Linked DNA regions of Homo sapiens: regions 1, 2 and 3 are each linked to region 4. Evidence: promoter capture Hi-C in 16 types of primary human blood cells and fetal thymus (Javierre and others, 2016). All regions are on one chromosome and are shown on one strand. The core of a region is centred on a gene start or on the middle of the fragment in contact, and the rest is flanking DNA. Distances in the headings are between cores, read along the strand shown. Region 1 overlaps LOC105369890 (a long non-coding RNA gene). Region 2 overlaps LOC105369892 (a long non-coding RNA gene). Region 3 overlaps LOC105369890 (a long non-coding RNA gene). Region 4 holds the start of GALNT4 (polypeptide N-acetylgalactosaminyltransferase 4).

Region 1 (3,316 bases), core at 537-3,036, 530 kb after region 4:
GCGTAGGGAAAAGTCAAGGTCGGGTTTGTCCTGCATTGATCTGAAATGCCTGGACCTTCATACCCCTGCCTCCATCAGTCACTGGATGAGTGCCACCTGGGAAGGATGTAGGGGGTCTGATCCTTGAAGGGGCTGTCAGTTGAAGGATGCTTCCTGATGGCTCTCTCAGTAGTAGGAACAAAAAGTCATTCCTTGACGGGATCTGGGTAACATTTTTTGTGTGTTTCTTACCTATTAAACCTGGTTTTGTGAGAGAAACTAACTGTAAAACTTACTATAAATGTTAATTTTATAATTCATATGATGATCAAACTTTTATTAAGGGTCTACTGTGTAATAGCTACTTGATATAAATAAAAACATTAAACCTGACATTTTTCTCTTTCCTTTTTTTTTGATACTGAGTCTTGCTCTGTCACCCAGGCTGGAGTGCAGTGGTGTGATCTTGGCTTACTGCAACCTCCACCTCCCAAGTTCAAGCGATTCTCATGCCTTAGTCTCCTGAATACCTGGGACTACAGGCAAGTGTCACCACACCCAGCTAGTTTTTGTGTTTTTAGTAGAGACAGGATTTCACCACGTTGGCCAGCTGGGCTTGAACTCCTGGCCTCGTGATCCACTTGCCTTGGCCTCCCGAAGAGCTGGGATTACAGGAGTGAGCCAGGGTACCCGGCCTGACTTTTTTTTTAATGTATGTTATTTCTTCTCTTAAAGTTGATAGTCTTTAGACCCATTGCAGTAATCCTCAAACAACCATTGAAGGATCAGGGTCGCACAAAAATACATATTGGTTACTAACTATGTTCAACACTTCAGAAATGTGAATCTTTTCTGCATAAAGTTCTTCCTTGGCATTTCAACACCATAAACAGTAGAATATTTTTGGCAATTGTTAAGCAGGGTAATTGCCAATACATAATTTTTGATCCACTATGACATAATTACAATAACAAAATTTACATATCTTAGTACTTCTTGAAGAACAAAATAAAAAATACTTTTAAGTTAAAACATTCTTGAAGAATACATAGTGGTATAAAAACTGAGCCTCAGGAAAAAAATAAAGGGAAATGCCATTTAATATGTTTTATTATCAACTGGGGAGCCAAAAATAAGTCATACGTAATGGAATTTCATTGTGTAGCAGTGGAATTTCCCCCAGAGTTTTATTAAAAGCTTTAACACAGTTTGAACTCCTCAGTGAAGTCAATGGCCTGGCCAAGGTCTGAGTCAGCATTTTAAGTAAATATGCTAATTTTTTAGCTCAACAAAGAAAATGTTACTTTTAGTGCATTTCCAATTTAAAACAATCTTTTTACTCTACTAGTTATAAACTATTCAGTGTAACCTAACTGAATGTTTTGATTGGTTATATTAAAATTTGCATTTCCTCAACAGTCTGAGAATGGTTTACTTGTTGACTGATCACAGTAAGAAGATTAAATTAGTAGTCCATGAATTAATAAGAAGTGCATTAGATGTTGATACAAAGCTTAATACAAATCATAATAGTGATCATTTTGCATTTGTATCATTTTACGCATTCAAAAGGATAAACCACATTCATTAGTTGATTTTAAAACATTAGATATGTCTATGTATGCAAATGAAAGTGGAGGATAAGAAAATAGATCTAAAAAATTAATTTTTCACTTGTCCTATCATTATCCGCTCTTTAGAAACCCTGCAGGTATAATAGAAAATTCTATAATCTTACTGTTCAGAGTGTGAACCTTGATTGAGAATAGGTGTCACTTGGTTGCCTGTTAGAAATGCTGGTTTTCAGGCCTTACGCCAAACCTGCTACACTGGAATCTGCATTTTACCAAGATACCCAGGTGATTTGTATTCACATTAAAGTTTGAGAAGAATTAAATCTGCAGTGCTTTTGTCTCTGACAAACTGAAGTTAAAATTCCAGTTTTTTTAACATTATCCAAATAATTGCTTCTTCCCTTTAGTTACACAAATAAATATAAGTATAACATATTCTGAGGCATAAAACTCCATACAGAAATGTGAGTCATTGAAGTTAATTTCTGTTTTAAATTCTGAGGAACTAAAGGTATAGGGTAGAATTAGGAAGCTTCTCTTTGAATAAAAATGTTCAAGTTATCCAATTACAAAATATGATTAATAGGCCTAATTTTATTTTTGTATATATTTGACCTTTTCCATCAGAATGATTTCCTAGAAATGTTAAATGGAGGGTTCAGGAAGCAAGCAAAGAAAACAATTTCCATCAAATAACATTATTTGACCACTGCTTACACAGAACAATCATCTTATGAACTATTTTCTCATTTCTTTGCATAAGTGAAATTTCAAAACAATGCTTTCCCCCACTCCCTTCATTTCTTGTGGGTAGCATAAGAGGATTTGCAACCCTGCTTGGTTTATGAGTCTCATATTACTGACTTTGCTCTGCAGATAGATGAAATAGGACCTCAAATGCAGTGGATGTTATGGTTAAAGCTGTTCTTATGTCATTTAGAGATTGTTTTTAGATTAAGGATCATTTGACCTTGAGTGACGGTGGTTGCTTAATTACCTATCATGGTGCCTCCAATAAGAGGTTGTCCAGTGCTGTCAGCCCATTACCTGCCTGTGCCATTCTAAAGCTTCTTGCTTCAGAAGATCTCTCAGCAGGGTTAGAACAAGGTAAAGAGCTTAAATAAGCAAGCTATATTTATCAGCAATAAACAGCAGTCCCTGCAAATGTCCTACCCAGTAAATTAATCTATAAAGGGATGGCTCTACCTGCATGAAAATAGAACTGATTTTCTAAAATTATTTATTAGTATTATTGTGAGCAGATAATACTCTACCATTGATAATAATAGAGACTTGTATAGCAGTTTCATGGCAGTCCCTATAAATATATCAGAAAAGATGAGTGTTTTTTTTTTTTTTTTGAGACAGAGTCTCACTCTGTTGCCCAGGCTGGAGCACAGTAGTGCTATCTTGGCTCACTGCAACCTCTGCCTCCTGGGTTCAAGCAATTCTTGTGTCTCAGCCTCCGAGTAGCTGGGACTACAGGCATGCACCACCATGCCTGGCTAATTTTTGTATTTTTAGTAGAGATGGAGTTTCACCATGTTGGCCAGGCTGGTCTCAAACTCCTGAGCTCAAGTGATCTGCCTGGCTTGGCCTCCCAAAATGCTGGGATTACAGGCGTAAGCCACCGTACTCGCCAACGGTCTCTTTACATTAAAAGAATTTAGTCAGTCTAAAACTTCACATGGTATATTCTGTAGTGAGGAAACCGCATAGAAGGAAGAATGTCTATAGCAGCTTCAATAAGATGGAATTGATTA
Region 2 (3,720 bases), core at 656-3,155, 730 kb after region 4:
AAAGATTCTGTTTTTATAACCATCAGCTCTATAATGGCTAGGTTTTGCAGGCAAAAAACACAGGATACTGAAAGGCATGTCATGTAAAGACCTGTTGAGCTTCAGAAGGTCAAGATATTTGGGTTGAGTCCTGCTGAAATGGACTCTCAAGAGCTGATTGTTAAATATTCAGGAATTTTGCAAGTTAGCTGTTAAATTGTTGATAGCTTGAAATGAGCTATCGTGGAAGTATTTACACCACCGAAATTGGCTACAGCTACAAAACAGGGTTTTGTTTCCACAGAGTTGGTTTTCCAGCACAACACTAGGTACTGGAATACTGGAGTTACAAGACAAAATGTATGAAGGAAAAAAAACAATAGAGGAATCTAGAAATGTACATTAAGGTCAGTTTATAAAGGGCCCAGGTAAATGTGGTTACAAAGTTTTTGGAATGCAAATCCAATTATGGCACCCTTCAATCTATAACCCTCCAGTGGCTCCCAAATGAAATAAAGTCTAAGCTTCATTTCCTTACATGAGAAGCCCAGAGAGAATGTGGCCTATGCTTTCCTCTTCAATGTCATTTTGTAATTCTAACCCTCTCACCCTCCCATCAAGCTACAGCCATGCTGGTCACCAGGTCCCTAACAAGCCAAGCTCTTTCCAACTTTAGTCCTTTACATTAGTTTTTCCCTTTGCCTACTATGTTATTCTAGTTTTTGCATAGTTGTGTCCTTTAGATCTCAGCTTAAATATCACCTCCAGAGAAAGGCTTTTCTTGATCTACAAATCTAAAGTAGCTGTCTGGTAAGTCCCTCTCTTTTATATCAGTCCATTTTAACACTCTGCTTGATACTTAATGATGTGGCACGGGGGTTAAATGCCTTGCTTCTGAAGCCAGACTGCTGGGACCCATTATTACTCCACCACGGAGTAGTTGTATGACTTTATCAAAGTTGCTTGTCTCCACTATTCAATTTCCTATTTGTAAATAGGATGTAATTAATTATCTTTCATGAGGTTTCTGCGGGAATTCATATGTGTAAAAGAACACAAACCACATAAGAGAGAGAATGGTGACTGGCTCATTACAGCATTAGAAATATATTAGATATTATTGTCCCTGATATCTGATATTTATTGATTTATTATCCAGTTTTCTCAACTAGAATATATGTTCAATAGAAGCAGGCACCTCATCTTTTCTGATTGCTTTAGATTCTTCCTGCTGCTGATTCCTAGGGCAGTGCCTGGCACATGGCAGCAATGATGTCAGGGAGAGGAGGTATGAGAATGACCTGCTCATCCTTGGTTTCTTTTTGCCTTCCTGACCTCTCTCAGCTTTCTGTGTTGCTGCTCTGTGAGTCTAGAGCAATGGAAACAAGCATAGCTGCGTGCAGCAGTCCTTGCAGGGACGCAATGACAATGACAGCCTCTGCCCTCCTTGTTTAGGAAGCACAAAACTTGTCCTCAGCCCATGATGGCTATTCAGGAATGTGGGTACAATGCTTTCAGATCTGTCTTTTATAAAGAAAAGCCATAAATGTAAACATTTTCTGTATAAAATCACCCAAGTTGCAAATGCTTACAACCAGTTCAAAATTTTAAAAAAGACCTATGACCTATGACCAAACAAATCATGTTTACAGGCTGGACTTGGCCTGGGGTTCACCTGTCTACAATCTGTGCTCTTTACAACCTGTGATCTTGAACTTGAGCTCTTGGTTTTTTCTCTTTTTTTTGAGACAGGATCTCACTTTGTTGTCCAGCCAGAGTGAAGTGGCATGAACACGACTCACTGCAGCCTCAACCTTCCAGGTTCATGTGATCCTCCAGCCTCAGCCCCGCCAAGTAGCTGGGACTACAGGCACATGCCATCACAGCAGCTAATTTTTGTATGTTTTGGTATAGACAGGGTTTCACCATGTTGCCAAGGCTGGTCTTGAACTCCTGAGGTCAAGAGATCCACACACCTTAGCTTCCCAAAGTGTTGGGATTACAGGTGTGAGCCACTGTGCCTGGCCTTGTTTTTCTTTATTTCCTTTTTTTTTTTTTTTTTTTTTTTTGTGACAGAGTCTCACTCTGTTGCCCAGGCTGGAGTGCAATGGCAGCATCTCGGCTCACTGCAACCTCTGCCACCCAGGTTCAAGTAATTCTCCTGCCTCAGCTTCCCGAGTAGCTGGGATTACAGGCATCCACCATCACACCCGGCTAATTTTTGTATTTTTTGTAGAGACAGGGTTTCACCATGTTGGCCAAGCTGGTCTTGAACTCCTGACGTCAGGTGATCTGCCCCAAAGTGCTGGGATTACAGGTGTGAGCCACCATGCCTGGCCCTGGCCTTGTTTTTCAATTTTGAGGTCAGTGTCCTCTGCTCATGGACACCTTTCAGACAAACTACCTGAGGACCACACTCTGCAGCTGCATGTTCCTGAATCTTGCCATTGCATTTTCCTGAGTATATTTGGTCTCTTTGACTCACTACACACACCCTCCCAAGATGGCACCCTTTACCCTGGATCTTGTTCCTGGGTTTAACAGATATTAGATGAGAGTTACCGTGGTTCACACCAAATTAGGTGGGGTATGTCAGAGAGTCGAGGATGAGGAAGGTGGATAGTTTGGGCTCTGGTTTAAAGGTTTATTATTGGAGAAAGATGTCATCTGAAGAAAGGGACTTCCATTTCCCATTTCTCCCTTCCTTCCTTTTTCCTTCCCTCTGCCCTATGGTAACCTTAGTCTAATCTCTGTCCTCAATCAGCAGGTTTGCTGACATTTAGAGGGCTGTTATGGCAGTCATGTCTTTCTGAGGCCTTGCCTTTTTAATGAACATTTGGCTGGGGAAAGGGGGCAATCTAGAACAGCTGTGTCCAAACTTTTTAGATTGCATGTCTTCTTACCAATAAAAAATTAAGCATTCTTCCCTATATGTATATTTACTTATTATTTGATATGCAATCTAGTGTTCCAGTGTATTATGCACATTTTCAAACACACGTAAAATATTGATTTAAAATAATGTGATGAAATATAAACATATTTGGGAGGCTGAGGCGGGAGGATCATGAAGTCAGGAGATTGAGATCATCCTGGCTAACATGGTGAAACCCCGTCTCTACTAAAAATAAAAAAAATTAGCCGGGCATGGTGGCGGGCGCCTGTAGTCCCAGCTACTTGGGAGGCTGAGGCAGGAGAATGGCGTGAACCTGGGAGGCGGAACTTGCAGTGAGCTCAGATCTCGCCACTGCACTCCAGCCTGGGCGACAGAGCAAGACTCCATCTCAAAATAAATAAATAAATAAATAAAAATTAAAAAATATAAACATAAGCTTCATTCTCTCTTTCCAGTCCGTGGGGAATTGTCAGGTACACTTCATGGGGTGGAGATACCCAGGTCTAGAGACACATCAGACTCTAGGGTGGATGCTTTACCAGATGGGCTGTGTGAGTGCCTGCCTTACCTGATTTTTTGGTCAATTTTGCACTGGAGTGCTGTCCAGGATGTAAGTGCCCTGACAAATATGCAAGCCTAGAGCCTCATCCTCAGGACGACTGCTGGGAATCTCTGCAGGGCCCTTGGGGTTGAACAGCTGCTTGCTGAGCCTTTGACCTGAGAACCAGAGACTTATGTGTCTCTTCACTCATATTTTCTTTCTTCATTGTTTAAGAGTTGTGCAGATCACCAAAAACATAATAAAAATAATGGGAGCTGTGTACAAGCCTCACTTGGGCAGAAAA
Region 3 (3,635 bases), core at 877-3,376, 560 kb after region 4:
GGAAAATAATCAATATTATGTCTGGGGCCTTTAGAGTACTGTCCTAAAAGTATAATATGCCACCATTTTTTAAAACCACATTTTTTGGGGGTGCAAGCAGAAAAATGAAGGAATCTGCAGTCTGACTTATGCTCTTGTCACTAACCTTTGGTTTGTAGGTTGAGAGAAGCATTAAAATAAGCATAGCTGCTGAACTGTATTCTTTCAGCAGCCAGAAATGGAAAGCTTCAGGGAATAGCAAATGGTTGCAGGACTCTCTTAAGAGATTACTTATAAATCCAGATATATGTCAGATTATTAGAATAATTGAAAGTCCAGTGAATCAGAGAGATAGAAGGAAAGTCTCTTGAAGCATGATTTATAACTCTATGCAGAGTTTTAAATGCCATTCAGCAAGACATTCCAAAGTGTCTACTGTGAATGAACATTTAGAAGGACTATAATTTTTCTTTTTAATTGAGATACCTATCTGTGTCCTCGGTAACACAACTATTCCTTTGGCTTGTTAATTATAAAAAATAGTCCCTACCTCTTCTGAATTCTGCATGCTTTCTTTAAAGACACTGCAAAGCATTTGAAGCTACTAAGATTTAATGCATTCTTTACCTTAAAGCAAGCACCGATTGGCGGCACAGAGTTCACACAGAGATAAAGAACGAGAAGGACAATGAGAAGTCATGTGACAAAGAGGTCAGAGCATTCAATCCCAGAGAACTGGGATTGTAAATAAGTTCTGCCACTTTCCCACTATGTGACTTTGGGCCAGTTACAAAGTATTCATGAATTTCAGTTTTCCTCTGATGTAAAATGAGGTTAATGGTAATTGTTTTAATGACTCAATTATAACCATATAATTATCTGTATATTTACGGCTCTATATATTTAAAATACCTTTTAAATACCTGGCACAGTATAAGTACCCAATATTTCTCTTAATTTTAAGATAACAGATTATAACAGATTATAACAAATTTAAGATAACAGACTACAAACCTGAAGGAATCAAGTTTCCAAAGACCAGCGATCCATCTGAAGTGGATGAGTAAATGGTGACATTCATCCACCCAGTTGCTAATTCATCCATCAGTCCTTGAATAAGGCACATGCTTACTGGCTTACTGAGATTTCTCCAGTGTCCAAGATAGATAGAAGCAAGACTTAACTGATGTTTTCTCACTCTTAGTCCAATGCTGCTTTATGGTATTCAAAATAAAAATCCTTAAGGCTGAGAAAAAATGAGAAGGGCAAGTTCAGAAATGTAGAATATTTTAGAATTTCATTTGAGAAGAGAGGTGAAGAATTTTCTGATGGTATGTTCTGATAAAATAGGTGTGAATCAGAACTGTTATCTGTCAAGAAAGTAGATTTCCATTATAATCTCTGATACTAGATCCCCATGAATGGTGGATCAGATAAAGAAAATGTGGTGCATATACACCATGGAATATCACACAGGCATACAAAGAATGAGATCATGTCCTTTGTAGCAGCAACATAGATGCAGCTGGAGGCTATAATCCTAAGTGAATTAGTGTAGAAACAGAAATCCAAATACCACATGTTCTCACATGTAAGTGAGAGCCAAACAATGGGTACACAGGGACACAGAGATGGGAACAATAAACGCTGGGAATTCCAAAAGAGGGAGGGAAGGAGTAGGGAAAGGGTTGAAAAACTACCTGTTGGGTACTATGTTCACCACTTGGGCAATGGGTTTATTAGAAGCCCAAACTTCATGTAGAAAAAATAGCGAAAACAGGGCAAATCGACTGTGACTGGTAGGAGCTAATCATGTAGTTAGAATAATGAAGCATTTGCCAAAGTAAATCCAAAACATCTGTAAAGCTGCCAATTAAGTACAAATTGATAAGTCATTATGTATAAGGGTGATTCATAATACTGGAGATAATAAACATTAATTCTTACAGTTCATTTGTCCATTTTGTGCCGGGAAAGTCACTGAGGTTTCTGGACTCCTTTCAACTCATTTATAAATGGGTGAGACATGACCAAGCTTTATCACTTTTATATAAATCGCTTTTATTATTTAAGACATACCTTTTAGGATTCTACTTTTAAATTCTACCATCACCACTTGTCTTTCTTCTTCTCGCCTTCAGTTCCCAACACACAGACACACACACACACGCACACACACACACACACACACAAACACCATATTTGAATATCACATGATGGGAGAAATGAACAACTATATTAACCAACAGGTGAGTTATTGCAAGCTTTGCATAAACAAGAGTTGAATCCCAGTGGGTATTACAGGCTTCTCATCTACCCTTTGATTCTCCCTTCTGCCATCACATATAGAATAAGCAAAGGTCTTCTGATGAAAAGTTGCAAATATGTGGCAAAACAGGAAAGATGGAACACTGATGAAGAGTTTTCTAATATTAGTTTTGCTGAAGAGCTGGTGTGATTAGAGGCAATAATTAGTTTGAATTTTTGTAGGTAAAATACAGCATCATGAGCCACATTTGGCCATTCTTTGAAATGTTCAACCAAAATAGATTGTTATGCCCATATCCCATTTTGCATTATATGATCATGGTTAGAATTAACAAAACACTTGTGAAGAGCTGCCTGTTGCAATGGCTGGAGATTTGAATTGCTCAGAACGATTTCTTTTGAGATTGCCAGTTCTACTTTGAAACTAGACTTATTAACACAAACATCTAAGATGTACCTTGAGGCCCCCTTGAGAATTACTTGTCTGCAGCTATTTATTCATTATTTAGTCATGAACTGGTAACATGTCAGGCATGGAGAAGAAATTGTGTTGCCTTCCTGTAAAGGTAGAAAAGTCAACTATCTGTTAAATGAAAACGTGTAAGTTTGAGAGCTACTTCTCTTGCACTCAATATTTTCTTTAAAATTTTTAAGAAGCAGGTGGGTTATCAGTGTTGAAAGCTAATGTGTGTGTGTGTGCGTGTGTGTAATTAGATTTCTCATCACCTACTTTTGTCCCAAGAGACACTTTCCCTTAATGCTATATCATCATACTATTTTCATAGGAGCAGAATATCATCTTTTTCTTTTTAACTCCCTGTCAAAACCTGATCATCTACTTGCCTGAGTTGAGTAGCCATTAATGTTAGATACTTTATTAGCTAGTTCTATGATTTGGGAATATCATTCAACTTCTTTTTCTCTCAGTTTGAAGGAGTTAGATTAGATAATATTTAAGCAGTTTCAACACTCTATCCCTCTACAAAATAGCAAAATTTGTATTCACTCACTTGAATGTACCATAAACAGTTGTGGGAGTGAATAGCTATGGAGTGCCCATTAAGTAATGTCCAGCATAATTATGTTTATTGGCTTGTCATCACTGTGGTTGATGGGCAGAGAGCAGGTATTCTATTTCCTTTACATGTACCCTAGGTCCTCAACCCTGGTTATCTAAAACTGTGATCTACATAGAGTGGTTGCTCAATTGTAGACTGTCTTATATTTGAAAAATATTACAGAGTCACCCTTGTGGGTAGAGGAGTAAAAAGGATTGCTTCTCCAATGGTTTTAATCTATGAATTTGGATGTGCATGCACTATTATTAGAATTCTCATAGGATTAACAAAATCTGCATCTTCTAACAATATTGCAGTGGGTGATGGTGA
Region 4 (3,381 bases), core at 1-2,500:
CCCCACACTTCCATTCCTGTGTCATACGTTCCAAGGTACTGAAAATATTTCTTGCTGACAGCAAACAGTCCTCCAGCCATGGTAGGTGATCTGATGGGGTCAATTCTTGATATCCGCCTGTCCCTTTCCTGTTTGGGGACAGAATGCCACTGAAATGTTAAACGCCAGTCAAACCCACCAATCATGGGCTCCCCTATCTGCATATAGAATTCAAAAGTATTCCAATCAATTGTGTCTATAACAGGACACACAACTGCTGTTTCATCTCTCCCAATCCTTTCCAAAAGCGGTTCCAGCCAACCGGAATTACACTCACAGTGACAATCCAGGAAAGTGAGGACGTCCCCAGTGGCGAAAGTGGCCCCAATCAGACGGGCCCTAACCAGCCCCTCTCGCTTATTGGTCCTAATCAAGCGTACTCTATCAAGATTGCTGATGTAAGTTTCAAGTTGTGTCTTCAAATAAACTCTGTCACTCAAGTCATCCACCAAGATGATCTCTTTCAAAAGAACTGCAGGAGAAGTTTCTAAAACACTGTGAATGGTACGGAGCAAAGTCGACCAGGCTTCGTTATAGAAAGCAATGATAACAGAGGTGGTAGGAAGTGTCCTATAGTTGAACTTCTGGGACTTACACTCATACATTCTTTTATCCTCTATGTGTCGATGCAGGGAAATCCTGTCACTGAGGTAAATATTGATGGCGTATCTCTCAATGAGTTCTTCTTGCTGCTTCAGTTCATCCTCGTTGAGCTGGAGTTTGCTGGCTTTCCCCCACTCCCCAAGTGCACGGGAATCTGCAGGGGGCTTCTTATAAAGCGGTCGAGACAAATCCTCCGTATTTTTCTGGAGGTCTGAGAGCCTTCTTGACCCCAGCTCCCTGGCACGGCCGGCTCCTGCGGAGGCATGAAAAGTAGAGACCAAGAGCTCCACGAAGATATAGGCCACTGTTAAAAACGCCAGCAGCAGGCAGCTCTTGCCTGCCCAAGTCCACCTCACCGCCATCCGGATTCTCAGGGCTGAGGCGCAGACGCGGCCACCAAGCCACCACGCAGGGGAAGGGCGGCGGAACCCACAGCTCGAGCTCAGGTACTTCCCAGCAGGTTCTTCCTTTCATGCAGGCGCTAGGCTCCTTTCCAGCCACCCAGGCTTTCCAGGGGTCACCTGAGCCCTCTCGGTCCTCGGCCTCCGGCACAGCCCAACTCCTCTCTCCCTACTTCCTCCTGCTCGGCTCACAACTTTTCACAAACTCTCCAGCCAACACCCCACCCTCCCCGGGCCGAGGAGAAACCCCTCCCCTTCCCACTCACTCCTCCTGGTGGTTAGTTTGCGAAAGTCGTCCGCCAGGCCCAGACCGCTGGATAGGAGGCTCTTGGCCGGGCCGGGGGCTGGGGGCCGGGATGGCAGAGGGGGCCCTAGCTGCGCCCCGCCGCGCTGGGCCCTCGTCTCCGGGTGCTCTCAACCCTCATACAGGCCCTTAGCCGTTCTCCTAGGGACCCTGCCCGGACAGGAGGAAAGGTTTCCGGCCCATGGAGTTTAGTCTCATTACAAAAGCAAAACAAGAATAAGACTTACCAAGTTGCTTGCCGTTGGGGCTGAGGTCCAAGGAGGTGATCGCAGCTTTGTGGCCTTTGAAATAACGCTCCAGAACGGGGTCCTCCTGGAAAGGAAAGTTGTCAAGTTTTGAAAGCCGCCGCAGACCTCGAATTCTGGCGGCTGGGATCCACGCTGCCACTTCCCCGGAGTCCGGCTTGGGAATGGCCACCCAGGCGGCGGCTTGGCTGGGCGGCGGGGCCGGGCAGCAGCCCACCCACGGGCGCGGCGCCCAGTCCTGCTACAGGGAGACGCCGGCGCCAGCTCTCCCCGCAGAGCCCGCAAAACGCTCTGTTCGCGCTTCCCAGAGTCCAGCGCATCGCAGGAACCGCGGCCCCTTTGAAATGCACGTTCCCGGGCCCCGCCCGCTGGCCCAAGGCAGGCAGGTGCGAGGATGCGCCTCGGCTTTGGTACTTTTTTTTTTTTTAATACTTCCTAGGTGATTCTGACGCAGGCGCTCCACGGAAACCCTCCGAGAATTCTGGGGGCCGTGGGGCCGCCCAGCTCAGTCCGGAGCTCCGGAACTCGGGGAAGAGCGTCCGGGAGCCGGGTCTGGGTTCCGCACTCCGTCCGCCCCGATGGCAGAGAGTGAGATACGGACGCCCCGGGACGAGGGGCTCAGGACCCGGCTACGGACACCTGCCTCCATCTCCCTCCAGGTGCGGCTTCGGCCCGGACCTGGCCCCGCAGCCCGCGGGACAGGCTCCAGGGAGGGACCCCCCCCACCTCCAACCCGTCCTTACCGTGGCTGAGGCCATCGGGGGAGTGGTCGGCCCAAGGCTCCTGTGGGTGGGGGAACCCGGAGAGGGGAGGGGAGAGGATGGGGAAGGAGAGGGGACCGTGCGGCTCCCGGAACCGTCTGCCCAGAGCGGCAGCGCCTCCCGGTCACTACAACAACGGCGGCCCAGTCAAACCCCGCGCTCCAGGCATGGCCAGCCGAGCCCCGAGACACCGCCAGCCCTGTAAAGAGAGGACGGGAGGTATGCGCCGGGTCAGCTGTGGCCACACACCAAGCCATGTTAACTAACACTCGCGTTCTCCCTGGTTTGATGTCAGGAAGTGGGGTAGTAACCAGGACTGGAATAAGAGCGATGAATGGAAGGGCGTTGTGAGCCTGTGATCGATGCGATCAGAGTTCTATTACGTTTTAAAGAGACAGCACCCGTGACGTTTAAGGTGATCCCCTACCGCTTATTTTGTTGACGTAAAGCTTTGACATGAAGAGGGGCAGCTTGCTAGTTATTAATATACTAAAAGGAACTAAATCCCCTGAGGGCAGATTTGAATTTATTTAACCACTGTTTTCCACACAGTGCCCTGCAGGATATTGATATAGTTGCTGGATGTGCGTGATGAATGAATGAGTGAATGAATGAATAAATGTTGTGCATGCACTTAATAATTTTCTGCGATATGTTTCCATTCTCATCTGCTTATTTGCGTATACCTTAGAGCACTAAACTTACACAGCTGGATACTTAAAGTCTTTAGGAAGACTTGGAAACATGGTTTTTTTTGTTTGTTTTTTGTGAGACCACGTTTCTACAGCAGGCTTTGTTACACATAGTATCATTTGTGCTTCAGCCAAACAATGAAGTTGGTAGAATTACAAAATGTTTTCAATGTTTCCAAGTTATAAACTTGATTCCTAGATATTGGTCTTAGAGGTCACACAGAGACAGTTCTTCTAATTCCAAGTCCATATCCTTTTTTTTTTTTTAACCCTGCCTCAAAGCGTGATGTTCTGAGCTGAAAATTACATATAGTGTAAAGATCCTTAGCAACATCA

What was found. The method cuts DNA at HindIII sites, captures the fragments that hold promoters and counts their contacts. A CHiCAGO score of 5 or more calls a contact.
Region 1: a contact is called between a fragment that was not itself captured here and the fragment with the promoter of GALNT4 in region 4, in 1 of 17 cell types (total CD8 T cells). The highest score is 6.4, in total CD8 T cells.
Region 2: a fragment that was not itself captured here is called in contact with the fragment with the promoter of GALNT4 in region 4 in 1 of 17 cell types (total B cells); the score reaches 6.6 in total B cells.
Region 3: a fragment that was not itself captured here is called in contact with the fragment with the promoter of GALNT4 in region 4 in 1 of 17 cell types (naive CD4 T cells); the score reaches 5.4 in naive CD4 T cells.

The regions. Positions count from the first base shown.
Region 1 is chr12:90,057,750-90,061,065 of GRCh38, forward strand. All of the region lies in intron 8 of LOC105369890 (a long non-coding RNA gene), which reads left to right. Among named protein-coding and RNA genes, the nearest start is that of LINC02399, 110 kb to the left of the region's middle. The HindIII fragment of the contact is 593 bases long and covers 1,491-2,083 here.
Region 2 is chr12:90,256,785-90,260,504 of GRCh38, forward strand. All of the region lies in intron 2 of LOC105369892 (a long non-coding RNA gene), which reads left to right. Among named protein-coding and RNA genes, the nearest start is that of LINC02392, 35 kb to the right of the region's middle. The HindIII fragment of the contact is 2,808 bases long and covers 502-3,309 here.
Region 3 is chr12:90,079,359-90,082,993 of GRCh38, forward strand. The region is part of intron 10 of LOC105369890 (a long non-coding RNA gene); the gene reads left to right. Among named protein-coding and RNA genes, the nearest start is that of LINC02399, 130 kb to the left of the region's middle. The HindIII fragment of the contact is 229 bases long and covers 2,013-2,241 here.
Region 4 is chr12:89,523,546-89,526,926 of GRCh38, forward strand. It overlaps GALNT4 (polypeptide N-acetylgalactosaminyltransferase 4), which reads right to left and starts at 1,251. Exons shown (of 1, transcript NM_003774.5): 1 at 1-1,251. The coding sequence starts at 1,004. It overlaps POC1B-DUSP6 (POC1B-DUSP6 readthrough), which reads right to left and starts at 2,502. Exons shown (of 11, transcript NR_189589.1): 1 at 2,336-2,502; 2 at 1,575-1,659. It overlaps POC1B (POC1 centriolar protein B), which reads right to left and starts at 2,502. Exons shown (of 12, transcript NM_172240.3): 1 at 2,336-2,502; 2 at 1,575-1,659. The coding sequence starts at 2,350. It overlaps POC1B-GALNT4 (POC1B-GALNT4 readthrough), which reads right to left and starts at 2,717. Exons shown (of 3, transcript NM_001199782.1): 1 at 2,336-2,717; 2 at 1,575-1,659; 3 at 1-128. The coding sequence starts at 2,610. It also overlaps POC1B-AS1. RefSeq lists an enhancer at 968-1,177 and silencers at 1,268-1,647, 2,198-2,457. The HindIII fragment of the contact is 3,011 bases long and covers 1-2,800 here.